5 separate regions of the Homo sapiens genome follow, and regions 2, 3, 4 and 5 are each linked to region 1. The links are contacts of gene promoters, found by promoter capture Hi-C in human tissues and cell types (Jung and others, 2019). All regions are on one chromosome and are shown on one strand. Each heading gives the region's core, a stretch centred on a gene start or on the middle of the fragment in contact. The rest is flanking DNA. Distances are from core to core; before and after follow the strand shown.

What was found. The method cuts DNA at HindIII sites, captures the fragments that hold promoters and counts their contacts. A contact is called where the count stands out against the background at its distance.
Region 2: a fragment that was not itself captured here is called in contact with the fragment with the promoter of TRA2A in region 1 in 1 of the 25 tissues and cell types used here (mesenchymal stem cells).
Region 3: a contact is called between a fragment that was not itself captured here and the fragment with the promoter of TRA2A in region 1, in 1 of the 25 tissues and cell types used here (thymus).
Region 4: a fragment that was not itself captured here is called in contact with the fragment with the promoter of TRA2A in region 1 in 1 of the 25 tissues and cell types used here (lymphoblastoid cells).
Region 5: a contact is called between a fragment that was not itself captured here and the fragment with the promoter of TRA2A in region 1, in 1 of the 25 tissues and cell types used here (lymphoblastoid cells).

The regions. Positions count from the first base shown.
Region 1 is chr7:23,528,673-23,534,040 of GRCh38, reverse strand. It overlaps TRA2A (transformer 2 alpha homolog), which reads left to right and starts at 2,060. Exons shown (of 8, transcript NM_013293.5): 1 at 2,060-2,252. The coding sequence starts at 2,217. RefSeq lists enhancers at 822-1,321, 1,681-1,800, 1,322-1,823, 1,971-2,190, 2,201-2,250 and 3 more. The HindIII fragment of the contact is 6,699 bases long and covers 1-5,211 here.
Region 2 is chr7:24,720,056-24,725,200 of GRCh38, reverse strand. All of the region lies in intron 3 of GSDME (gasdermin E), which reads left to right. Among named protein-coding and RNA genes, the nearest start is that of GSDME, 35 kb to the left of the region's middle. RefSeq lists enhancers at 134-817, 4,541-4,640. The HindIII fragment of the contact is 4,296 bases long and covers 93-4,388 here.
Region 3 is chr7:24,550,763-24,555,761 of GRCh38, reverse strand. No RefSeq gene overlaps it. Among named protein-coding and RNA genes, the nearest start is that of PALS2, 20 kb to the left of the region's middle. The HindIII fragment of the contact is 7,513 bases long and covers 1-4,999 here.
Region 4 is chr7:24,950,614-24,955,871 of GRCh38, reverse strand. The region is part of intron 1 of OSBPL3 (oxysterol binding protein like 3); the gene reads left to right. Among named protein-coding and RNA genes, the nearest start is that of OSBPL3, 27 kb to the left of the region's middle. RefSeq lists an enhancer at 4,767-5,258. The HindIII fragment of the contact is 3,603 bases long and covers 963-4,565 here.
Region 5 is chr7:24,736,085-24,741,629 of GRCh38, reverse strand. The region is part of intron 3 of GSDME (gasdermin E); the gene reads left to right. Among named protein-coding and RNA genes, the nearest start is that of GSDME, 19 kb to the left of the region's middle. RefSeq lists a silencer at 1-40. The HindIII fragment of the contact is 7,050 bases long and covers 1-5,486 here.

The sequences.
Region 1 (5,368 bases), core at 811-3,310:
CTAGATCTAAGGTTTAATTAGATTTGAGTTCAATTTGAGGGATCAGGAATACTTCACAGGAGGAACTGGGTATTTTCTATTGCATCACATCATGAGGTATCTCGTATCTGGTTATCTCACTTTTAATGGTACTAAGATTGATCAGTGGTTCAAATGGTATCAACCTGGCTGGGCGTGGCAGCTCACGTCTGTAATCCCAGCACTTTGGGAGGCTGAGGCGGGCAGATCATCTGAAGTCACAAGTTCCAGCCCACGCTGGCCAACATGGTGAAACCCCATCTCTACGAAAAATACAAAAATTAGCCGGGTGTGGTGGCACGCACTGTAATCCCAGCTACTCGGGAAGCTGAGCCAGGAGAATCACTTGAACCCGGAGGTGGAGGTTGCAGTGAGCCGAGATCGCGCCACTGCACTCCAGCCTGGGTGACAGAGCAAGTCTCCGTCTCAATAATAATAATAATAATTTCTTTTGTAGAGATGGGGGCTCACCATGTTGACCAGGCTGGTTTCGAACTTCTGGCCTCAAGCGATCTTCCGCCTAGGGTCTCCAAAGTACTGGGATTACAGGCGTCAGCCACCACACCCAGCCAAGTTCAACATCTTTTCTAAGAGCCAGATGTCATTTAAGTTTATCCCTATCAATAACTGACATTCAAATGCTGAAATCTTGCCCCCAGTGGTAGCAATCTTCATAATAATGCCAGATGAACTTTCCTACCATAGAACTATAGTTGAAAGTCTATGTCAATCTTTTTACTACAAAGCACTGTAGGAAAAAAATTTAAGATGAAACTAATTTTTAAAGTTGCATTACACAAGTAAAACTCATCTCAGAGATTATTACTATGATTGGGAACCAAGTTGACAGATTTGGGAGGTCTTCACTGTGAAGCTTTATGGAAATATCTAAGTCAAAAAAACTAGTAGGGAGCTAAGCATTATAAAAAAAAAACTACACGGCTGTCTCTAGGAGGGGGAACTGGAGCAGGGACACGAGGCAAGGAGCAGCGGCTTTGCATCATAACCTCATCTGTGCATGTACTACGTCGACATTACACAGGGCAAATATGGAAGAAAAGTAATACAGTCAGCTGACAACGTGCCCCCCAAAAGCCTGTTATATATACACGATTCCAGCCGGGCGCGGTGGCTCAGGCCTGTAATCTCAGCACTTTGGGAGGCCGAGGCGAGCAGATCGCTTGAGTCCACAAATTCGAGACCAGCCTGGGCAGCATGTCAAAACCCCATCTCTGCAAAACACACAAAAATTAGCCGGGTGGGCCGGGTACGGTGGTTCACCCTTGCAATCTCAGCACTTTGAGAGGCCCAGGCGGGCAAATCACCTGAGGTCAGGAGTTTGAGACCAGCCTGTCCAACATGGTGAAACCCCCGTCTCTGCTAAAAATACAAAAATTAGCCGGGCGTGGTGGTGCATGCCTGTAATCCCAGCTACTGGGGAGGCTGAGGCAGGAGAATTGCTTGAACCTGCGAGGTGGAGGTTGCAATGAACCTAGATAGCGCCACTGCACTTCAGCCTGGGCAACAGAGTGAGACTCCGTCCCAAAAAAGAAAAAAATTAGCCGGGCGTGGTGGCGCGCGCGGGAGCCTGAGGTGGGAGGATCGTCTGAGCCCGGGAGTTTGAGGCTGTGGTGAGCAGTGATCGCTTCACTGCACTTCAGCTTGGGTGACAGAGCGAGACCCTGACTCAAAAAATAAACAAACATAAAAAAACGCTTCCAATGTTTTGTTCCCTTACATCAGAATCCACTTGGACAATATTTAAAGGGGCTAAGGTCATATAAGGCTCATCTGGCGACTGAAAAGTCTTCAAAGAGGTTGACGCGTCCGAGGTGAGTCTGAAGTTTGGAGGACAGCACGGGACCGCGATTCCAAGGCGCCCAGGTTGAGAGCGCAGGCCGCCCGCCAACCTCCACCCTCGCTCCAGGCCCAGCCGACACAAAGCCTCGCGGGAGGTGGAGCCTCGTGACGTCACAGAGACGCCCGCCCCCTTTACGTCGTGCTCTGAGGAGGCCAGGAGATTTCTGGCGGCGCCGGCGCCATTTTGCTGGAGCCTGCGACCGAGTGGGAGTGGAGTGGAGCGGCTGTGGTTGCCGACTCTTTCCTCTTCCCCACGGTCCAGTCAGCGGGTTAATTAGGCCATCGGCCCTCGAGCCGAGACTTGTCTCTTATTTAGTTCTGGGGAGCGCCTCGTCGACATGAGTGATGTGGAGGAAAACAACTTCGAGGGCAGAGTGAGTACAAAGCCGCGGGAGCCGTCTAGGCGGCGGCCCAATGCTCGGGGTTTCACGGGAACAAGCGCGGTCGGGCGGGGTTGCGGGTAGTCCCGCGAGGAGCAACCTCTGGAGCCATCGCGATTGATTCCTCCCATCCCAAGATGGCTTCTGGGTTCCACTCCTTCCCCAAACACCACGGATAACACCCCTCCCCCTTTTTTGGAGGCTGACTGATACCTGGACTTCTGGGTCCTCTTCCCTCCCCGCCCCCGCATTGCTTCCTCCCTTCTCCCCACCCCTGAGGCTTCCTTATGTCTGCTCCGAGGTGTGGGTCCCCGTCGCGGTTGGGCGGGAGGAGGCGGCAGGGAGCTCCCCTCCGTCCGGATAGTGGTAGGTGCTTCCTGCGGTGGCATTTCTGGCGACCCCGAGCATCGTAGAGGGTCTCGGGATCGAAAGTGCGCGGGGCTGCTTTCCGGGCGGGGAGAAGCTGGCGTGGGACTAGCTGGGGCCTGTGTCTCCTTGGCTCTCTATTTCAGTGAGCGGCCGCGTCTCTGTTGGAACCGGCGGCGTTGCGTCTAAAAAGGCGAAAGCCTTGAGGTTGAAGGTGGGACGAGCCTAATGAAGTGGTTAGTCAACGACCGCACCGACCCTTAAGCGTTCTTAAGACGAGAGCTGTGAGGGGAAACTACGCAAGGAGCCCTTTTCCCTTAATGTCCCTTCGACTTTCCTTTCACTTCGAAATGAATGTGGAAATGCTGTCACGCCTTATTTTTCTAATTCCTCGATGTTGGGTTTTTTCTCTTCTTTATATCTCAACTTTTAATGCTCTTCTTCCTATGACCTTTCATCTAAAAACTGACCACTCCTTTACAGGTTTTTACGGTAAAAAAAAAAAAATCTGTCTTTCTTTAATCTTACATAGCTGAACGAATTCATTGGCTCAGTATTTTTAAGATAACTAGTCAGTATATACTGTTCTGTAACTTAAAAGATGACCTGAAAATTAACAGGCCCTCTCCCATTTCTCTTCTCACTCTATCCCCCACCGAAGAGGGCTCAGAAAAAAGTTTTTATTAATATATTTGGGGTCGGAGAAATACAAACATCACAAAGAATACGATATCCCCAGCTTAAATGTACTGGAACGTTTGTCAGTGAGTTTCATTTCCAAAGTTTACCCTACATAGGGAATTGTAGAAGTGAGTTAGTAGAAGTGAGTTCGTGTGAAACCCTGGAAAGAAAACAAAAGCCCCATGCAACACGTTCCGGGCTGTTGTGTAGATGTTTATTCTAGTCACTAGGGGAAGCACATAAAAACACCTGAGGTGTGTGTGCTGAAGGGCGAATTTTGTCCTTTTGGGGAGTTCATGATATAAACATCTAGAACCAAAAAGTCAAATCAGAAGGTCAGTTTAGGCTTTAGTTCTCTTTGAGGAAAGATTTAAAGCAATAGACTATAATAGTTACCCGGTAGACTAAAAAATTTGCCTTTAATTCTTTTGATTGGAATTTTTTTTTACAAAGTTTGGAGCATGGAAACAAATGAAAATTGAACCTGCTTATTTTTTAGGATGGTGTATTGATGGCCCCAACAGAACTTTCTAAAATCATGCGATAAACATATATGATAGTAGTTGTAAAATGCTTCTTGTTTTGAAAATGTTGAGTAATTATCGATAGAAATTTTGCTGTCCATTCATACATTCCTTCAATTAACTTTCATTGTTAAAAAATTGGGGGATTGATGTTTGGTTTGGTTTGTGGGGAGTGAAGAGGACTACTGGAGGGACCTTGTTTGCTTGCTTTTTTTCTTTTTTTAATTTATCATCAAGTCTAGGAAAGGAGTAAGTTGCCGACAATTGTCACTTTTCCCTCCTAAGAAAGTAACATGTTAAGATTCCCACCTACCAGCCTGGGTGACAGTGAGACTCCCGTCTCAAAAAAAAAAAAAAAGATTCCCACCCACTTTTAAGCTAAAGTATATGTAGGCATTAAAGATTTATTTAATAGAAATAAAGGGCCCTCTTACGGCCCTTTGTGGTCATAGGAAATATTTTTTTCACAAGTGGTACCCAAGTGTATTTTAGTGTAAATCAACTAGTGCTTGTAGGCTCACCTGTTGTATCTTTTTATTTTTCGTCTTTTAGTTTTTATAGGATGAGATAATTGTCTTTATTTGTAATTGGTTAAAGAATTAGAACAATGCGAGAAGCTTGTCTGGAGATGCCCTTTTTAAAATCGTTTCTGGCCGGGCGCAGTGGCTCACGCCTGTAATCCAACAATTTTTGGGAGGCTGAGGCGGGTGGATTACTTGAGGTTAGGAGTTCGAGACTAGCCTGCCCAACGTGGTGAAACCCTGTCTCTACTAAAAATACAAAATTAGCCGGGCGTGGTGGCGTGCGCCTGTGATCACAGCTACTTAGGAGGCTGAGGCAGGAGAATTACTTGAACCTGGGAGGCGGAATTGCGCCACGACACTCCAGTCTAGGCAACAGAATGAGACTCTTGTCTCAAAAATAAGTAAATACGTAGGTCCATAAAAGCAATTTTAAGTGGAGATGTCCTTTGGAGCTGGGAGTGAAGGTAGCACTTAAGCGGTGGCTTTGCATGTCTTGATAAAAGTAATGAGTTGTTTGCCTCAATACAGCTTCAACTAAAATTCGGATTTTGAGCTCAAAAAATGTTAATGCCCTTCATAGAAATTAAGGGGAATGGAAATCTTTTCTTAACATTTTACACCTCTACCCCTAAAATTTTAAGAACTGTACTTTATAAAAATGTGCAATTTTCATACAGCATCCCAGTGTTGATCATGGAGGTTAATGATTCTTTATTGTTAGGGACCTATCTTGTAATTCCAGAGTTATTTATGTTTTCTACAGTTGAAGAGGAAAAATACCGCTTCTTATTGCCTCCTTTTCAGGATTTCTTCTGGCTTCTTGAGTAGCTGGAGTATTTTTGAGAGACTCCTACAGGCCCTGCGGGGTGGCACATGCCTGTAATCCTAGCTACTTAGGAGGCTGAGGTGGGAGAATTGCTTAAACCCGGGAGGCAGAGGTTGCAGTGAGCCGAGATCGCATCACTGCACTCCAGCCTGGGCGACAGAGCAAGACTCTGTCTCGAAAAAAAAAAAG
Region 2 (5,145 bases), core at 991-3,490, 1.2 Mb before region 1:
AGCTTCAGGACTGGAGCAGTAGCTCAGCTAGGAGGAGATTGAGTTAGTCTGTTTGCATTATTATAAGGAAATACCTGAGACTGGGTAATTTATACAGAAGAGAGGTTTAATTGGCTCATGGCTCTGCAGGCTGTACAGGAAGCATGGTGCCAGCATCTGCTCTTGGTGAGGCCTCCAGAAGCTTCCAGTCATGGAAAAAGGTGAAAGAGGAGCAAACATGTCACATGGCAAGAACAGGAGCAAGAAAGAGGAACAAGAGAGAGTGAGGGGGAAGGTACCACACTCTTAACCAGTGTGAACTCAGAGTGTAAACTCACTCATTACTGCAAGGCGGGCACCAAGCCTTTCATGAGGGATCCACCCCCGTGACCCAGACACCTCCCACCAGGGCCCACCTCTAGCACTGGGGATCACATTTCAACATGAAACTTAGAAGGGACAAACATTAAACCACATTGGAGCAGGGAACCGATTCCGGGATGACTCCAGGTCTTTGTGTTATATCGACCTGCCAGGTACGCGCAGAAGGGCAACCTCACAGTAGAACTGGGTGGGCGGAGTTGAGCCAAGCCCCTGAGTGAGGAGAGGGAGTTCTTCTCGACTGAGTATGCACCCCCTTCCCCTGCCTCCAGACTTGCTCCTTTGGGGCTGGCCCTTTCTGTTGAGGATATACGCCTCTGCCTCAGTGGCCTCCTGTTCTTGCTTTCACGTTGCCGCCCCCGCCAGGAAGAACAAGGAGCCTGCCCTTAGATGTGTGAAGCGGATGAAGAACCTCTGCTTGTTCATTTTCTCCTGGAAGAGCTTCTGCTCCATTTTCCCTGTCTTTGGGCATTGGCTCCTGGCTGGACTTGGGGAGAGGGTCTCATTCCAGTCCTGCCCGGGTTTATGTGATAAACCATTCATTTTATCCCCCAGCTGGGTGGATAGCACAGGGCTAGGCACCAATAAAAAGAGCAAGTACTTTGTCCTCCAGGAGCTTACAGTCTGTCCAGAAGGCCTTTTTTTAAAATACTTTTTTTTTTTTTTGGAACTGGGCAATCTATTCACATGGTTTAAATGTCAAAAGGTCAAAAGAGAAAAGGTGAAAAGCCCCTCCCCGCCATCTGGTTCCCCACCCAAGAGGCGACCACTACTAATAGTTTTCTGTGTCTCTAAAGCCATTCTGTCTGTGTTGCTCAGTGGCTCTCACAGGGCCCGAGAGGAAAGAAATCAGGACAAGTTGGGGAAGAACTGTCAAATGGCACAGGGCGGCAGCCACGAGGAGAGTGAGATGGGCTTGGGGAGAACAGGCAGGCATGGATATTCTGATAAGGATTCCCAGAGGACTTGGGTATAACTTGCTTTTCCAGCCTCCATCTACTGGTCTGGTTACATAGGCAAGATATTTACATATAGAAATGAACATAGCAATACAAGAGTTAATAGAGATGAAGATTCAATTCCTAGTACAGCCCAAGGGTGCCCTCACCCAGAAGAGGGAGACAGCAGCTATGGGTGCTATGGCCATGTGGGCCATTGTAAAAGACCTGGGCTTCACAGCTGTGTGACTTTGGTTACTACCATCAACCTCTCTAGGCTCTTTTTTTTTAAACTCTTCTGAAACCCTCAACTGAGAGTTTTAAATGTTTTGTTTCATGAACTCTATTAGCAGTTGAAGAAACCCATGGGCCTCTTTAAATGCTTATAATAAAATATATAAGGTTATACAGTAAACAAATTGCATTGAAATTTGGCTGGTTTCTGCACTAGGCGGGCACAGGGGAGCCCTGTTGCATGGTGATTTCTGTTCTGAGGAGGGCCAGAGCCAGGGTCTGGTGACCTTGAACTGTTCTGGGTCTGCACCTGAGAACACCGTCCCCAGGGGACACCAGCTCTCCCCCTGGGGCTGCTTGGGGCTTGGTGGAATTGACTGAGGGAGGAGATGGGGAAGAATTCCCTCCCGAGATTGCTTTTCAGAGAGTCAAACGAAAAATCCATTTTCCCTGATGTGTAGCTTCCCCGCTGTCCCTGTGGGGCCTCTCCTAACTGAAGATGATTAAATATTTCCAGCATTTGGTTTCCAAAAGGTGGCAGCACTGTCCTGGGAAACAGAATCCCAGTGACTTGGGTGGAAGTGTTTGCTGCTAGGTGGATGATGCCTGCAGTTTCCGGCAGCCCTGCCTTGGTTGCCCAGGGAAGGATTCCCAGTGGCCTGCATGAGCTGTGGCTGTGTGACACGTTTCTGGTCACCCGAATCCTAGCCTTGGAGACAGTCTCCGTCCCTGGGCGAGCTTCTGTTCCTGCGCTGTGGTGGGTCCGCCCCACAGAGACCTTTTGAAGGCAGCGACTCAGCAAGCGTCTCAGGACTGCCCTGTCATCGGATACAGCAGGCAGTTGCCTGCCCACCTGCGTAGATGGCTGCCCCTCTCTTTTGGTGTTTGAGGTGGGGGTTCTGGAGGGAGGTGGGCATTTTAAGCAGTGGAGTCTTGAGTAGTCTAGGCTGAGCTTTTTCTTTTCAAACAATTTCACACTGGCTAGGAGCAGTGTCCAGTGTTCAGTGGATTCTGTTTAGGGCGGGTAGGAGGGCTGTGATTTCCAATCCAGCAGAGTCACATCAGACTCCTAAAGGCGGCAGTTGTGGGGTCGTCACCAGGCGGTGATGTGTCTGACGTGCGTCTAGCTGGGAGGAGCCCATGCCTTAGTTGTGAGGGCACAGACAGACGTTCAAGAATCTGCTAGAATTTTGAGCAATAGAAGGAAGAGACCATTGGAAAGGGAACAGTTGAATGTATGTTCTGACCGGTGGTTACAATGGCTTTTATCTTTAAAGTCTTTGCCTATGGGACCAAGACATGCAATCCCTTAGGAAGATCGCATCTGCTATGCACCATTTTTTGATCCAAGCTGCAGATCCTCCATTTCCCCCATCTTCCGTGTCTTCTGTCTTTCACACGTGGATGCACAAATACATATGTACACATTCATTCAACCAATAGAGGAAAAAACCTCACAAGTTTTATTTACTCATTTATTCCAAAAATATTTCCTGAGCTCTTCCTACGTACTAGGCATTGATCCTGGCCCTGAGATATGCAGTCAACAGGAGAGCACACTCACCACCTCTGTGGGGTTTATATTCTTGATGGAGGAGGCAGGCCATGAGCAGATAAATGAATGAGCTAGAAAAATATCCTGTGGAAATGTGCTCTCCAGAGAAGTGATCTTAGGGTGTGATAGCATGATGGGGGTGCAGGGAATGCTTCCCCGAGGAGGTGACCAATGAGTCAGTGAAATGTGGCCATCAGGGAATGTGTGCCAACGCCTCGGGGTAGGCACACACCTGGCATTTTTAAGGAGTAGTAAGAAGGCTGGAAGATAAAGTCAACAGGGGGCAGGGCAGATCACATGGGGCCTCAGCCTGGGAACGCACTGGACATGGGATATAGCCATTGAAGGCTTTTAAGAAGGGAGTGATGTGGAAACGTACCTCTGATTCAATTCAGTGCCCCATAATTCCCATGCAGGGCACACACTGTGGCTTTGTTTTGTGAGCCTCATAGAGGGACACGGGAAGGTGGGCGGAGCCAGCTAGTGTTTGTGTGGCATTTAACTCTGTGCTCGGCACACCCTAATGGCTCACTGCATGCATGTCATCTAAACCCTGACGGAACCCCATGAGGAGGGGGCCCTGTTACCAACAGTTCATGCACGAGAAAACCTAGGTGCAGAGGTGGCCCTTCACTCGAGCTTGCCCAGTGGGAGGGCAGAGCTGAGATCCGAACCCCAGCCCTGCAGGCTCCAGGGTCCCTGTTTCCTGTTCCTTCCTGGAAATGGAGTCTCTCGGCAGCTTTGTGGTTGTCATCAATGTATTTTTATCACGTGTGAGACATTTTTATAATTTGAATTTCCTTAACCAGTACTAAGATTGAACCCGTTTTTCCTATGTCTTATCTATTTGTTATTGTGGTAAAATAGATGAGACACAACATTTACTGTTGTAACCATTTTTAAGTGTAAAATTCAGTGGCATTAAATACATTCACCCTGTTGTGCCGTCATCTCTACTCTGCATTTCTAGAACTTCTTCGTCACCTCAACTAGGAACTCTGCAGCCATCAGGCAGCGAAGCCCTGCAGCCCCGGTAACCTCCAATCTGCTTTCTGTCATTATGAATTTGCCTGTTCCAGATATTTCATATGAGGAACCACACAATATTGCTCATTTGTCCCTGGAGTGTGTTACTTGGCATAATGTCTTCAAGGTTCACCCATGTTGCAGCAGATGTCAGAACTTCACTTCTTTTTTTTTTTTTTTGAGACGGAGTTTCGCTCTTGTTGCCCAGGCTGGAGTGCGGTGGCACAATCTCAGCTCACCGCAACCTCCGCCTCCCGGGTTCAAGCAATTCTCCTGCCTCAGCCTGCTGAGTAGCTGGGATTACAGGCATGTGCCTGGCTAATTTTGCATTTTCAGTAGAGACGGGGTTTCTCCATGTTGGTCAGGCTGGTCTCGAACTCCCGACCTCAGGTGATCCACCTGCCTCGGCCTCCCAAAGTGCTGGGATTACAGGCATAAGCCACTGTGCCCGGCCCAACTTCATTTCTTTTTATGGCTGTATGATATCTCATTATATGACTATAACACATTTTGTTTCTCCATTCATCTGTTGATGGACACGTGAGTTGTTTCTATTCTGGGCAGGTGATTACATTGAGATGGGACTTTCCTAGCTACTCACTCCAGTTCCAGGGCTACTTTCTGAAGCCCAGAGAACCTGAGTCTGTCTAGGATGGGTGACCCAGCATGTGTGTGGTCAGGGATGGGTGCTGAGCTTTTCAAGGTAACTAACCTCTTAAAAAAAGACCAGCATGGATACCATAATTTTTCTTGTGCTGTCACCAACTCTAGTTTGGTTCTTTTCCTGTCCATTTCATAGAATCATAGTATTGAATGAGATCTCCAGAGAAGTTATTTCATCATTTGCTTCTAAGCATGAAATCATCTCCTGTAAATAAAAATTTAGTCTGTTCTTGAAAGTTTGCAGAATTTCAAGTGGCTGGGTGGGAGCCCCAAATCTCTGCTGAGTGACTCTGGATAGGCCATGCATAACCAGCCTCAGTTTCCCCATGTGTAAAAAGACATCAAACCCCTTCTAAGAGATGAAACATC
Region 3 (4,999 bases), core at 1,621-4,120, 1.0 Mb before region 1:
CACACACACACACCTTTTGTAATTTAACACCTGGCCAAACATAGTTTTAATTACCGCCACTTAATACATGCATCTATAAATTTTTCTTCTTTTTACATAATTTATTTCTTTGCATATGTAAAACATGCACATTATTCCGAAGCCAAAACTATGTAACAAGACAGAATCAAAGAAATCTTGTTTCCCAGCCCATCTGAAGGGAAGGAGGAGAAGGGTGGAGGGGATGGGCTGGGAAATAAGACTTCTTTGATGTTTTTAAACATCTTAAAAGTATAATATACATACAATGATGGAATCACATCATAAATGTGGAGTTTGATGAATTCTCATAGGCTGAGCATACCTGTGTAACCACCAGCAAGGTGCAGAAACAGAATATTACCAGCAACCTAGAAACTGCTCTTGTGCCCTTCTTGCTTGCTGCTCCCCATTCTCCCCAGAGACAACTGCTCTCCTGAAACACTATGAATTAGCTTTGCCAGATGTTGAACTGTAAGTGGAATAATACAGTATATGTTCTTTTGTGCTTGGTTTCTTTCACTTGACAATATATTTATGACATCCATCCATGTTGTGTGTAGTAGAAATGTTCTGTCTTTTTTATTCCTGTTACCATAATCTATCATATTGAACATACAGTATATCATAATTTGTTTATGACTTTTGCTGTTGATGGAGAAATGAGTTTCTCATTTTTGGCTTAATCAATAGTGCTTCTTAATACCTTCTTGTACATGTCTTCTGATACACAAGGTATACATTTCTCGTAGGTATACTCCCAGAAGTAGAATTGCTGGGTCATGGGGTACGTGTATGTTCAGGCTTTAGTAGATACTGCCAAAGAGTTTCCAAAAGTGAATGTTCCAATGCACACTTCTTTCAGCAGTGTATAAGAGTTCCATTTGTTCCTCATATTTGACAACACTTGATAATTTATGTCTTACTAATTTTAGCCCTTCTGGTAGGTATCTCACCGTGCTTTCATTTTGTTTTTCCCTTATACTAATCATGTATACTAGTTTTTAATTTATTCTTCTACTATTTAGTTTTGCCCTTTTATTAGACAAAAGGTAATTCTCTCCATATACTGTTTTCTGTTATGCACACTGATTTTTTTTCACTTAGTATATCCTAGAGATCTCTGTATAATACAGTGTAGTAAGATTTTATTTTTTTCTACAGCTACATAGTATTCAATTGCATAGATGTGCCTGAGTTTATTCAATCAGTTCCCTATCAATGAAAATTTAGGCTGTTTCCAAACATTTTCTATTATAAATGTGCTGCAATTAATAGGCTTATGCACACATCTTTTCATATTTTTGCTACTGTATCTGTGGGAGAGATCCTTAGAACTGGCATTGCTGGGTCAAAGACAAATGCATATGTAATTTTGTTAGGTGTTGCCAGATTTCCCTCCATAGGCATTGTACCATTTTTTATTTTTTACAAGTGACCAGTAAGATATGTGGTTATATTTTATGCAATAACCCTCTTCTCTTAGAATGCTCAATAGCCAGGGAATTAAGACGTTGGCAAACCTTTTAAGTGAATAATCTTTTTTTTTTTTTTTTGAGACAGAGTCTCGCTCTGTTGCCCAGACTGGAGTGCAGTGGTGTGATCTTGGCTCACTGCAACCTCTGCCTCCTGAGTTCAAGCGATTCTTCTGCCTCAGCCTCCTGAGTAGCTGGGATTACAGGTGTGCACCATCACTCTTGGCTAATTTTTGTATTTTTAGTAGAGACAGGGTTTCACCATGTTGGTCAGGCTGTTCTCGAACTCCTGACCTCGTGATCCGCCTGCCTCAGCCTCCCAGAGTGCTGGGATTACAGGCATGAGCCACCATTCCTGGCCTAAGTGAATAATCCTTAAAAGTAAAAATATTTGATTATCTATAAAACTACAACCTCATAAAGCATTTTAATGTTCCTTAAATTTTATATGTACACATTTTAAGATGTGTATATATAAAAATTGAGTTAGTAATGTAATGTGTATTCATATGCATTCATATAAAATGTGGTTTTTAATAACAATGTATTAGCTAAGAATGTTTTAGTTGTGAGTTTAAGAGGGAAAAAAGTGAGGCATTCATTGATTCATATAACTGGGAAGTCAAAGGCAGACTTGCTAGTCAGGTATAATGAGATCCAGGGACTCAAACAATATTGATAGGAAACTTTCTTTCTCCCCATCTATGGCCTCTGCTTTCCTCAGTGTTAGCCAGGTTTTCATTGCCCTTCCTGCTTGCAGTCTCACAAGGCAAGAGGTCTTCTCTTGTCAAGCATCCACATCTGTCCCTACAAAAGGACTCTGACTTTCACTGAGCTGTGAACACCTCCTCTGTGTCAGAGAAGGTGATAGGGAGTTCTCTCGACTGAAACAAGCAGAATAAAGGAAGCTGAGGTCCACTTTCCCTGCCAAAAGGTTGTGGGCTACTCTAAAACAACAGATGTCTTTTATAGCTGCGAATTCTGTTGTCTGGATACACTGAAATTAATCTAGCCTCTCTCTGGTGCCCACCTTAACATTTAGGGTGTTTCCATGTTTTGCTAGTATACATTATATCATCTAAATATTCTTATATTCTACACTTTATTTCTTTAAGATAGATCTCTATAAATGGAATTACTAAGTGAGAGGATATGGATATTTCACATATATGGCCAAATCCTTCCAGGGTGCTTGTAGTAATATATACTCTCAGCAGCATTGATGAGACTGCTCTTCTACCACTCCCAGGGGAGCATTAGGAATTTTAATTTGATAGGGGTTATCACATTGCTTCATGCTTGATTTTCACAAAACAATAAATATCTGTTCTGTTTATAGTAGGTATTCGATACTTAGCTCTTCATTTTATTTATGTTTCAGATTTTCCTATCTTCTTTTCCCAATGCCTACTTACTCTTCTTCCAATTTAAAAGAAAAACTGTGAAATAAAAGAAAGGAGAATATATCTCTTAAGTGCAAAAATGTCAAGTTCTCATATTTTCCCCACTATACTTAAGATTTATGAGATGCCTTGAGCAAGTAGCAAGGTACAGCTGTGTCATCAAGAAGTGACTTGTGGGTGTGTGCAGCTGGTCATCATTTCTTCAGGTCTCCCATGAAAGCTTCTGCAAACAAACATACAATCTGAAGACACTGTGCTTGCTATGCTAACTGGCAAGGCAAATCCCCTCATCCTTCTTCCAACCAGGTTGTTACTCATAAACTCCTTTTAGACAGAAATTCTGGAGTCATCACTAACTTTGTTCACTGCAGCGTGTATTAGTCTGTTCTTGCACTGCTAATAAAGACACACCCGAGACTGAAAAATTTATAAATACAAAAAGGCTTAATGGACTCACAGTTTCACATGGCTGGGGAGGCCTCACAATCACGGTGGAGGGCAAAAGGCATGTCTTACACGGCAGCAGGCAAGACAGAATGAGAGCCAAGCAAAAGGGGAAACCCCTTATAAAAACATGAGATCTCATGAGACTTATTCACTACCATGAGAACAGTATGGGGAAATCGCCCCCATGATTCAATTATCTCCCACCGGGTCCCTCTCACAACACATGAGAATTATGGGAGCTGCAATTCAAGATTTTATCAGCCAAACCGTATCACAGTGGTTCTCAGACTATGGGCCCAGAATGCAAATTCTCAGGCCCTACCGCAGACCTACTATATCAATAACTCTGGCAATCTGCGTATGTGGGTGTAATTGTGGTAAAATACTCAGAACATAACATTTTCCATCTTAATCACTTTAAAATTTATTTTTAATTGGCAAGTAAAATTATATTTATCATGTACAACATGTTGTTTTGAAATAGTATATGCATTGTGGAATGGCTAAATCAAGCTAATTAACATAGGTATCACCTCACATTCACCTCACATACTTTTTTTTTTTTTTTAAGTTTGAGATGAGGTCTCACTCTGTCACCCAAGCTGGAGTGCAGTGGCGCCATCTCAGCTCACTGCAATCTCTGCCTCCCAGGCTCAAGCGATTCTTGCACCTCAGCCTCTCCAGTAGCTGGGACTACAGGCATGCACCACCACACCTGGCTAATTTTTGTACTTTTTTGTAGAGATGGGGTTTTACCATGTTGCCCGGGCTGCTCTCAAACTCCTGGACCCAAGCGATCCACCTGCCTTGACCTCCCAAAGTGCTGGGATTACAGCCATGAGCCACTGCACCCAGCCACTTTTAATTTTCTTTTTTTTTTAATGGTGAGAATCTTAACTGTTTCTAGGTGTACAGTTCAGTAGTGTTAGGTACATTCACATTGCTGCACAACCAATCTCTAGAATTCTTCTTGTCTTGCAAAACTGAAACTCTGTACCTATTAAACAGCAATTTCCCATTCTCTACATCCCCCAGTGCCTGGCAGCCACCATTCTATTGTATGTTTCCATGAATTTGACTGCTCAAGGTACCTCATGTAAGTGGAATCATATAACATTTGTCTTTTTGTGGCTGGTTTATTTCACTTAATATAATGTACTCAAGGTTTATCCATTTAGCATGTGTTGAATTTCCTTCTTTTTTTTTTTTTTTTTTGAGATGGAGTTTCGCTCTTGTTGCCCAGGCTGGAGTGCAATGGCACAATCTCAGCTCACCGCCACCTCTGCCTCCTGGGTTCAGGCAATTCTCTCGCCTCAGCCTCCAGAGTAGCTGGGATTACAGGCATGCACCACCACACCCAGATAATTTTGTGTTTTTAGTAGAGACGGGGTTTCTCCCTGTTAGTCAGGCTGGTCTCAAACTCCCGACCTCAGGTGATCCGCCCGTCTTGGCCTCCCAAAGTGCTGGGATTACAGGCGTGAGCCACCGCACCCGGCCAAATTTCCTTCATTTTTAAGGCTGATGAATATTCCATTGTCTATATACACCACATTTTGTTTATCCATTCATCCATCAGTGGATACTGGATTGCTTCCACCTGCCAATCTGTGGTTTAACAAATCCTTCAGGTGATCCTCATATACACTTAAGTTTGAG
Region 4 (5,258 bases), core at 1,515-4,014, 1.4 Mb before region 1:
GAAGCTCAATGATTGTATGTTTTTAAAAAACATTCATTCTGTAGATATTTATTGAATGCCTACTAATGCGTCAAGCCCCCTTGTGGGTCCAGGGGATACAACAACAAACAAAGTCCCTGCCCTCATGGAGTTTGCATTATAAGCAAATAAATATGTATGTCAGGTGATAGTAAGTGCTGTGGAGAACATTAAAGCAGGGATAAGTAGGTTAGAGTGTATAGGGGACAGGGGTGCTGCTGTTTGATTTTACATAGAAATGGCCAAAGGCCTCTCTGATAAGGTGACATTTGAGCAGAAACCTGAAAAAAGAGGGGAAGCACAGACTGCACAAACATCTACTTAGAGAAAACAAGAAGTGCAAAGGCCCTGAGGCCACCCCAGTAGCCTCTCCTCCACAGAACAGCCAGGGAGAATCACTAGAATGGAAGCTCTGTGAGAGCAGGAACAACATGTATCTTGTCTACCACTGTATTCCCAGCACTGGAAAAATTCCCAGCGCATTGTAAGTGCTCAGTATATTTTTGTTGTTGGAATAGATTAATTGCTAAATGACATGGTAGCCCCCAAACTCATTATGGGAAAAGTTTGCTTTCTTCCTTGTTGGTGGGGAATTAACTGGTAAATTAACCTGCTACTGGCTTTCAGCAAATTCATGAATGATTGAACTATAACTTTATTAATTCAAAAATAATTTTTTGGAAGTCTGTTATGTGCCAGACACTGTTCAAATGTTGGTAATATGTATAGTAGTGAACAAAAGAAAATCCCTGCTTTCATGAAACTTGAGATAAGGCTAACTCCGTGGCAGAGTTGACAAATGGTCAGATACTGAGAATCAAGAGGTAACCAAGGCACATTATGGATCTTTGAGGCTGTGATTATGGAGGGCATGATCACATTTCCCTTGCCTGCCCTGTTTGCTCACCCTCTACTCCATCCTTAGATCCATTCCTTTAGTACTGTCAGCATGAACCCTTGGCCAGAAGGACCACTTATCAGACCCCATGGGATACTTTTTATGCTCTTTCCAAAAAACCTTTTCAAAGTGTCTTCCACCTTTATGATTTCTAGGTAATGTGGTTTTGTCATCATATTCCTGCTAAAAATTTCCAGGTTTGAAATTAAAGAGAGGGTCAATGCAAAACGACTTTTTGTTTGTTTAGGGTCCACATCTTTAATTCTTTTCAACGTACTGTTGGAAGAACCTAAGTTTATTTGTAGGAGATGGGGTCAGGAGGATTGCAGACTTGCCTTTTTACATCTTGGCCCCCTCTGTCCCCACACCTTTTTTTTTTCTGATTTGTGTGAGAATTGACCAGGCAGCACTGAGTAACATGGTTGGGATAGAGAGAGTGCTGTTTGTCTAAACACTTTGTTTGCAGCAGAAATGCCAAGGTTAACTGGGTCTCTCGTGGATATGATTATATGAATTGAAGCAGTGTAGATGATTCTTGGCATAAGAGTAGCTATAACAACATTCTTAATTATATAGAACTTTTAAAGCTATTTTGGTCTGATACCTTACCTTGGGACTGAAAGATTTTGACATCCTTATGGAGAAAGGATTAAAAAGTAAGCCTCTCTTGGTGCAGAGAATAAATAACTTCACGTCTAAAAATACCTTAATATGCAAAAAGAAAAAAAATTAATCCAAAGTGTTTGGACAGACTTTTCAGCACAGCCAGATGATTCCTGGTGCTCAGGAGAGTACTTTGGCTTGAGTGATTCTGTGTTTGGACATTATTGCTACTTTGTTTGCCTGCATGAAAAAGATAGTTTTGGGAGAAAGTAGAAGAGTGGAATATCATGAAAGAGGAAGGAAGGTCTTGGATGAAGAGCTTCACAGGGCCTGTTTGGAGCTGCCACTTCCAGTGTACCCAGACCCCTTTCTCTCAGTTTGTTCTAAGGTTCATCTGGTGATTGAGAAAGTGTTCCAGACTGTTGATCATCATTGTGATGATTACCATAAGGATTATTTTCTTCATGAGCTGTTTTGTCTCACATTTTGTAGCAAAAGCTATTCCTGGGATACATGCTGCCTGCTTCTAGTTCATGCCGTTGAACATTTAATGGAGAGTCAGGCATTGACCATTTATTAAATGGAGCTCCAGTTGTGCCTTGATCTAAGTGACTTGGAGTTCTATTTTCATTCATTTGTTCAGCGTTTACTGGGCACCTACTGTACCAGGATCTGAAATAGGTAGTGGATACAAATCTGCAGCTTCTGTTTAGAGTAAGCTTCCTTCCCTGTCTGAACTGTTTGATCACTGATACAATCTGACTGCTTCCTAATGTGCCTAATTCTTTTTCTGATGATCTATTTAGTTTTCATACTGAGAGTAATAATGAATGTTCAATTAATAAACTTTTATTTAAGATGATTATTCAAGTCTGATTACAATTCAGCAGATACGTAATACTTTTTTTTTTAACACAATACTTTAATAAGACACATTTAAACTCAACTTCTGAGCAGCCTTTCTGGCAGGGATAGGAAATTAGAACCTGCTGGTATAATTTTTTTTGAAAGAAACCCCAGGGAAGAGTTGCTTGGTTAGGAAAGATGGGGCTTACTCCTTGGCAGAGCTGACAAATGATGGCATATTGAGAATTGAACTATAGATGGGTTGCCAGAATAATTAAAGTGATGAAGCAAAACTACTTAAGTGAAGGCTTTAATCTTTTAAGATAGTATTATTAGCAAAAGCCCAGAGTATGTATTTATTTACCTTTTAGAGACGGGGTCTCACTCTGTCGTCCAGGCTGGAGCACAGTGGTGTGATCATGGCTCACTGCAACCTTGAAATCCTAGGCTCAAGTGACCCTCCTATCCTAGTCTCTCAAGTAGGTGGGACTACAAGCATGCACCACCATGCCTGGCTAATTTTTAGATTTTTTTGTAGAGACAGTGTCTTGCTGTGTTGCCCAGGCTGGTCTTGAACTCCTGGGCTCCAGGGATCCTACCACCTCTGCCCCCTAAAGTGCTGAGATTACAGGCATTGGCCATCCCAGAGTTATTTTAAATGAGATTGGGGAGGGGAAGCGGGGTTGATAGGGAATTGGGTAGGGAAATATTTTAAATCTGGGAACCTTGATGGTACTCTTGTTTATAGATTCAGCTGATGGTTTGCATATTGGTAGGGCAGGCCTAGAATCCTGGAAATAACCTTACCATAATCTCTATAGAGTTGATGTAATGCACAGTTAAGAATGTTGCAGGATTTTGCATGTGAATATACATATGCCTGGCATGAACCGTATTGAGATACATGATAAATTTGAGTACCTAGTCTCCAAAGGTGGCTCATATGAGCATCTTTCCATATTTATAGAGCAACATCTAAAATTTCATCCAATTTCAGGATATTCTTTAAGGGTATTACAAATAATATTTTAGACATGTTAGATTAGACCATACCTTCTGAGGTTTCTGAGGTTTCGGTTTGCTACAGGGCATTGTATTGAATGTCAGGAGACCTAGATAACCGGTATATGATTAGTGATTACATGACATTGGGCAAAACTTGAGCCTTGTGGGCCTCAGTTTCTCTGTCCTTAAAATAAAAAGTTGGACTATTTATGTTGTGCTTAGCTTCTTAATTTTTTTTCTTAATTCTGTTTAGATTACAGATCCTAACCCACATGAAATATCAGCCTATTGAGCAGAATTTTGTGCATCATTTCAGTGTCTGGGTAGTTCAAGTGCCTCCTGCCTATTGCATTCCAAGACTAAGACTTTACTCAAAGTCTGAGCTCCTTTTTTGAAGCTTGAAAGAATGGCCGGTGGGGAGGCCCCTCTACATTCATTCGTGTTCTTCCTTTTAGTTATTAGATGTTATAATCCAGTTAATAATATCCCCAAGAAGTGTTGCTGTCAACAGTACTAGAGCTCTCTACAGTCTCATTCATGTTGGAATAAAATGATTCCTTTTTATGTTTTAAAAAAAAGAAAACATTTGAGGTCTCACTGGAAGTGTTTATTCATTTGAGCTGAAAGATGTACCGTGGGTGTTGTGATTTTGGAGAGCTTCTGCAGCAGGTTTATGTCTAGAATGTTTTGTCCCTGTTTGTGTTTGTTTAGACTGAAATTAATAGTTTTTCTTGCAAGCTATGAGGATCATTAATACAGGTTTCTCCCCCGTGGTGTGTTTGTCAGCCCTTACATGGAAGAACAAAATGAAAGAATATTTCTTGTTTTAAGCTCAAAGCTTACGTCTTTACCATTAAATTGGGGAACTTGGGGGAAGAAAATCCTGTGTGTGTGGGTAGGGGGAAGGGATTTGTGTATATGCACAATAATTAAGTTTAAGTCATAAATACTAATAGTCTTCTGGCTTTTGTAAACCAGATTTCTTTCCTGGATCTAAAAGTGTTTTTATTTTTTGTGCCCACATCTGTAGTCATGGATTTGATGTATATATTTAATAACATTCAGTGATTTATTTTTCGGTTCACCTTTTTCATTTTTCCCCTTTCTTTTTACCAGAAGGAATATGAAGTTACATATAAATTCTGCATAATTGAAAAAGTGATTTTGATTTACTTTTTACTTGAGCAAGGAGTTGCTTTTACTTAAAGGCATTTTTATTTTTAAGAAATTTGAAAAAACCCCACTTAAGGATCCACTTACATTAGGCCACTAGCAAATATTTTTAGATAAGATTTTGATTGATTTCTTTCAGTCTGATTCCATAATCTCAAATTTCTTCGTTTCTTTTCTCCTACTTTCCATCCTCTTGATGCTACAATCAATAATTTGATTTGGGAGATTCTTTCTTTTTGTTGGGGCTGGTGGTGGGGAGGGAGATCGTTGTTTTGAATATTAAATGATCATTTAATGGGGCTTTGACACAATATCATATAAATGCAACTTTAATCCATTCATTCAGATTTAAGGCTTAGCTTTATATAAAATATGAAGCTTAATTTTTTTTTTCAACTCAAGTTCAGTCTCCTCTGATTTTGTAACAGACTTCTAACTGTTGAGCATTGACTTTAAACAGTCCTCTGTGGTGACTTGAGTTCCAAATTACATAACCACTTTAATTCTGCACTAATTTGTTCTGAATGACCCTCTTTCTTTCATTTCACCCTTAACATCTTTGGCTAAGAAATTTTACATGTTTTTGTTTTGTTTTGTTTTGTTTTTTGAGACGGAGTCTCACTCTGTTGCCCAGGCTGGAGTGCAGTGGCACGATCTCCGCTCACTGCAAGCTTCGCCTCTTGGGTTCGTGCCATTCTCCTGCCTCAGCCGCCCA
Region 5 (5,545 bases), core at 712-3,211, 1.2 Mb before region 1:
ATCTGCAGACAAGTTATTTTAGGCCTCAAAAATCAGAATATTAGCTTTATTGTCTATGAAATGTGTGCACATATCAAAAACAAACTTTGTCCTTGAAAAAACAAGCCTGTGCTGGGCAGGAAGGCATTCCACAGAAATTAACCTTCCGGATACCTGGAGCTGACCCCTTTGAATGCAGTCTCTGTGCAGATCTTAGCATTCTTGATGGAAACTATTCTAAGATATGTCACATACTTTTTTTTTTTTAAATGGAGAATAACAAATTTATTGAGTCTTTTTCATAGTGACTCGGATAAGCTCTTTCATTTTTGTGTTTAATAAGCTTTCATTATTATTCTGTAATACGCTTTTCATTTGTCTGCCTTGTCTTCCGTGGTCAGCTGCCATTTGTCACTACCATAAGTATAAAAGCCACAGCCCACCCCACCTCTGCCACTAGCTTGTTGCTTCTAATTTCCTAGGGTCTGGTAAGTTTATTCCTGGTCAATAACTTAGGTCGACTTGGTAAGCCGTTTCTGCCCTTGGGTTCAGTTTCCCCAGCTGTAGGTGAGATAGTTGGACTAGATGATCTCTGAAGGCTTTCTCCTGGCTGAATGTCTGGAAGTGAGTGGACTCTGGAGCGCGCACACCTGTCAGCTCCCTCCCCTGAGTTCTGGGCCGCGGTCCCGGCTGTTTTCCAGAGACCATGCTGCGTTGTGCTTTCCTGGCTATTTGGGGATTGAGGAGGGTGTTACCATAAAGGCATATCCCACTTTTATTCTTCATCATATTGTAAAGGGAATTTTGGTAAAGCAGATTACATTTTTCTATGCACATACAGTAATGAGAAGTTTGGTTCTTTATTAGGAATTCCAAATTAAATAAATTATATGAAACCAGTATATTAAAGCAATGTCATGACCATGATAAATCTTCATAATTAAAATGTTTCAGAATTACACTGAATATATATATACATATATTTACGTAAATATATATACATACATTTATGGGATATATGACATTTTTTAATGAGGAATTTTTAATGGGAAAATACATCTCATGAGATGTTTTGATACAGGCATACAATGTATAATAATCACATCATGTAAAATGAGGTATCCATCACCTCAGGCATTTATCCCTTGTGTTACAAGCAATCCAATTATACAGTTTTAGTTATTTTAAAAATGTACAATTATTATTGGCTTTAGGTGTCCTAAAGTTATGCTATCACATACTAGATTTTATTCATTCTTTAGGTATCCTAAAGTTATGTTATAAAATACTAGATCTTATTCATTCTTTCTATTTTTATTGGACCCATTAACTATCCTCGCATCCCCCTACCACTCTCCCACTACCCTTCCCAGCCTCTGGTAACCATCCCTCTACTTTCTATCTCCATGAGGTCAATTGTTTTAATTTTTAGTTCAAGAAATAAATAAGAACATGTGAAGTTTATCTTTCTGTGCCTAGTTTATTTTGTTTAACATAATGACCTCCAGTTCCATCCCTGTTGTTGCAAATGACAGGATCTTATCCTTTTTTTTTTTTTGAGATGGAGTCTTGCTCTGTCACCCAGGCTGGAGTGCAGTGGTATAATCTTGGCTCACTGCAACCTCCGCCTCCCAGGGTCAAGCAGTTCTCCAGCCTCAGCTTCCCGAGTAGCTGGGATTACAGGCACCCATCACCAAACCTGGCTAATTTTTGTATTTTTAGTAGAGATGGGGTTTCACCATATTGGCCAGGCTGGTCTTGAACTCCTGACCTCGTGATCCGCCTGCCTTAGCCTCCCAAAGTGCTAGGATTATGGGCGTGAGCCACTGCGCCCAGCCCAGGATCTTACTCTTTTTTTAATGACTAAATAGTACTCTATCGTGTATATTTACCACATTTTCTTTATTCATCTATTGAGGATTAGGTTGTTTCCAAATTTTGACTATTGTGACTAGTGCTGCAATAAATGTAGGAGTGCAGATAGCTCCTCAGTATACTGATTTCCTTTCTTTTGGGTACATATCCAGCAGTTGGAATGCTGGATAGTATGGTAGCTCTATTTTTAGTTTTTTGAGGAATCTCCAAACTGTTCTTCATAGTGTAGTAATTTGCATTACATTCCCACCAACAGTGTACAGGCATTCCCTTTTTTTCCACATTCTTATCAGCAGTTTTTATTGCCTGTCTTTTGGATAAAAGCCATTTTAACCAGGGTGAGGTGATAACTCATTGTAGTTTTGATTTGCATTTCCCTGATGATCAATGATGTTGAGCACATTTTCATATGCCTGTCTGACATTTGTATGTCGTCTTTTGAGAAATGTCTATTTAGATCTTTTGCCCATTTTTAACAGGATTATTAGATTTTTTTCCCTACAGTTGTTTGAGCCCCTTTTATATTCTGGTTATTAATCTCTTGTCACATGGGTAGTGTAAAAATATTTTATCCCATTCTGTGAGTTGTCTCTTCATTTTGTTGTTTCATTGCTGTGCAGAAGTCTTTAACTTGATATGATTCCATTTGTCCATTTTTGCTTTAGTGGTTCGTGTCTGTGGGATGTTACTCAAGAAACCTTTGCCCAGTTCAATGTCCTAGAGAGTTTCCCTCGTGTTTTCTTATAGTAGTTTCATAGTTTGAGGTCTTAGATTTAAGTGTTTAATCCATTTTGATTTGGTTTTTGTATATGGTGAGAGATAGGGTCTAGTTTCATTCTTCTGCATAGGGATATACAGTTTTCTCAGCACCATTTATTGAAGAGGCTATCCTTTCCCCAATGTATGCTCTTGGCACCTTTATTGAAAATGAGTTCAACATAAATGTATGGATTTGTTTCCGGATTCTCCATCCCATTCCATTGGTCTGTATTTTTGTTTATATGCCATTACCATACTGTTTTAATGACTATAGCTCTGCAGTATAATTTGAAAGTCAGGTAATGTGATTCATCCAGCCTTGTTCCTTTTGCTCAAGGTAGCTTTGGCTATTCTGCATCTTTTGTGGTTCCACATAAATTTTAGGGTAGTTTTTTTTCTATTGCTGTGAAGAACATCATTGGTATTTTGTAGGGATTGCATTGAATCTCTACAAAGTATAGATTACTTTGAGTAGTATGGACATTTTAACAATATTTATTCTTCTGATCTGTGAATATGGAACATCTTTCCATGTTTTTTGTGTCCTCTTCAATTTCTTTCATCAGTGTTTTATAGTTTTCATTGTAGAAATTTTTCACTTCTTTGGTTAGTTTGTAGATATTTAATTTTATTTGTAGCTATTGTAAATGGGATTATTTCCTTGATTTCTTTTTCAGATTGTTCTCTGTTGCCCTATAGACATGCTACTGATTTTTGTATGTTGATTTTATATCCTACAACTTTAGTGAATTTGTTTATTGGCTTTAATAGTTTTTTGGTGGAGTCTTTAAGTTTTTCCAAATATAAGATCATGTTTTCTGCAAACAAGGATCATTTGACTTCTTCCTTTCCAATTTGAATGCCTTTATTCTTTCTCTTGTCTGATTGCCCTAGCTAGGACTTCGAGTACTATGGTGAATAACAGTGGTGAAAGTGGGCATCCTTGTTGTGTTCCAGATCCTAGAGGAAAGGCTTTCAGTTTTTCTCCATTTCAGTATGATACTAGCTGGTTGGTCTATCATATATGGCTTTTATTGTGGAACTATGTTCCTTCTATGTGCAGTTTTTTATCTTGAAGGGATGTTGAATTTTATCAGATGCTTTTTCAGCATCAGTTGAAATAATCAAATGGTTTTTGTTCTTCATTTTGTTGATATAATGTGTCACACTGATTGATTTGCATATGTTGAACCATCCTTCCATCCCTGGGATACATCTCACTTGGTCATGATAAATTATCTTTTTAATGTATTGTGGAATTCATTTTGTTAGTATTTTGTTGAGGATTTTTGCATCACTGCTTGTAGTTTTCTTTTTTTTTTTGATGTGTCTTTGTCTGGTTTTGGTATCAGGGTAATACTGGCCTTGTAAAATGAGTTTGAAAGTATTCCCTCCTTCTCTGTTTTTTGGAATAGTTTGAGTAGGATTGGTATTCATTCTTTTTTAAATGTTTGGTAACATTCAACAGTGAAGCCATCAGGTTTTTGTTGGCTTTTCTTTTCTGGGAGACTTTATTTTGGCTTTGATCCCATTACTTGTTTTTTTTGTTATTTTGGCTTTGATCCCATTTCTTCACGGTTCAATCTTGGTAGGTTTTGTGTCTAGGAATTTATTCATTTCTTCTAGGTTTTCCAATTTATTGGTGTATAGTTACTCATAGTAGCCTCTAATGATCCTTTGAATTTCTGTAGTATTAATGTAATGTCTCTTTTCTCATTTCTGATTTTATTTATTTGGGTCTTCTCTTTTTTTCTTAGTCTGGCTAAAGGTTTGTCAACTTCATTTATCTTTTTAAAAAAACAAACTTTTGTTTCATTAATCTTTTGTATTGTTTTCCTCATTTTAATTTATATCTGTTCTAATCTTTATTATTTCTTTTCTTCCACTAGCTTTGGATTTGGTTTGATCTTGATTTTCTAGTTCTTTAAGATGCATTGTTAGATTGTTTATTTGAAATTTTTCTACTTTTTTGATTTATGTACAGCTATAAACTTCCTCTTAGTACTGCTTTTGATGTACCCCATAGGTTTTGCTGTTGTGTTTCTGTTATCATTTGTTTCAATAAAATTTCAATTTTTCTTAGTGTCGTCATTGACTCACTGGTCATTCAGGAGCATGTTGTTTAATTTCCATGTATTTGCATAGTTTCACAAATTCCCCTTGTTATTGCTATATAGTTTTTTTATTCCACTGTGGTCAGAGAAGGTACTTTATATTATTTCAATTTTTTGGATGTTTTGAAACTTGTTTTGTGGCCTAACATATGGTCTATCCTTGCGAATGATCCATGTGCTGAGGAAAAGAATGTGTATTCTTCAGTTGTTGGATGAAATGTTCTGTATATATCTATTGGGTCTGTTTGGTCTGTAGTGCAGATTAAGTCTGATGTTGATTTTCTGTCTGGATGATCTGTCAAATGCTGAAAGCTAGGTGTTGATGTCTCCAGGTATTACTGCACTGGGGGCCTATCTCTTTAGCTTTAATAATATTTTCTTTATATATCTGGGTGCTCCAGTGTTGGGTACATAAATATTTACAATTGTTATATCCTCTTGCTGAATTGACCCCTTTATCATTATATAGTAACCTTCTTTGTCTCTTCTTATAGTTTTTGTCTTGAAATCGATTTTGTCTGACATAAATATAGTTACTCCTGCTGTTTTTTTGCCTGTGATTTGCATGGGCTTTTTCCATCCCTTTATTTTCAGTCTATATGTGTCTTTATAGGTGAAGGGTGTTTCTTGTAGGCAACAGATCATTTGGTCTTTTTTTGTTGTTTTTAATCCATTTAGCCAGTGTATGTCTTTTAATTGGAGAGTTTAGTTACATTCAATTATTATTGATAAGTAAGGATTTACTCCTGTCATTTTATTATTTGTTTTGTGGTCTTCTCCTCCTTCTTTCTTTTCTTCCTGTCTTCCTTTTAGTGAAG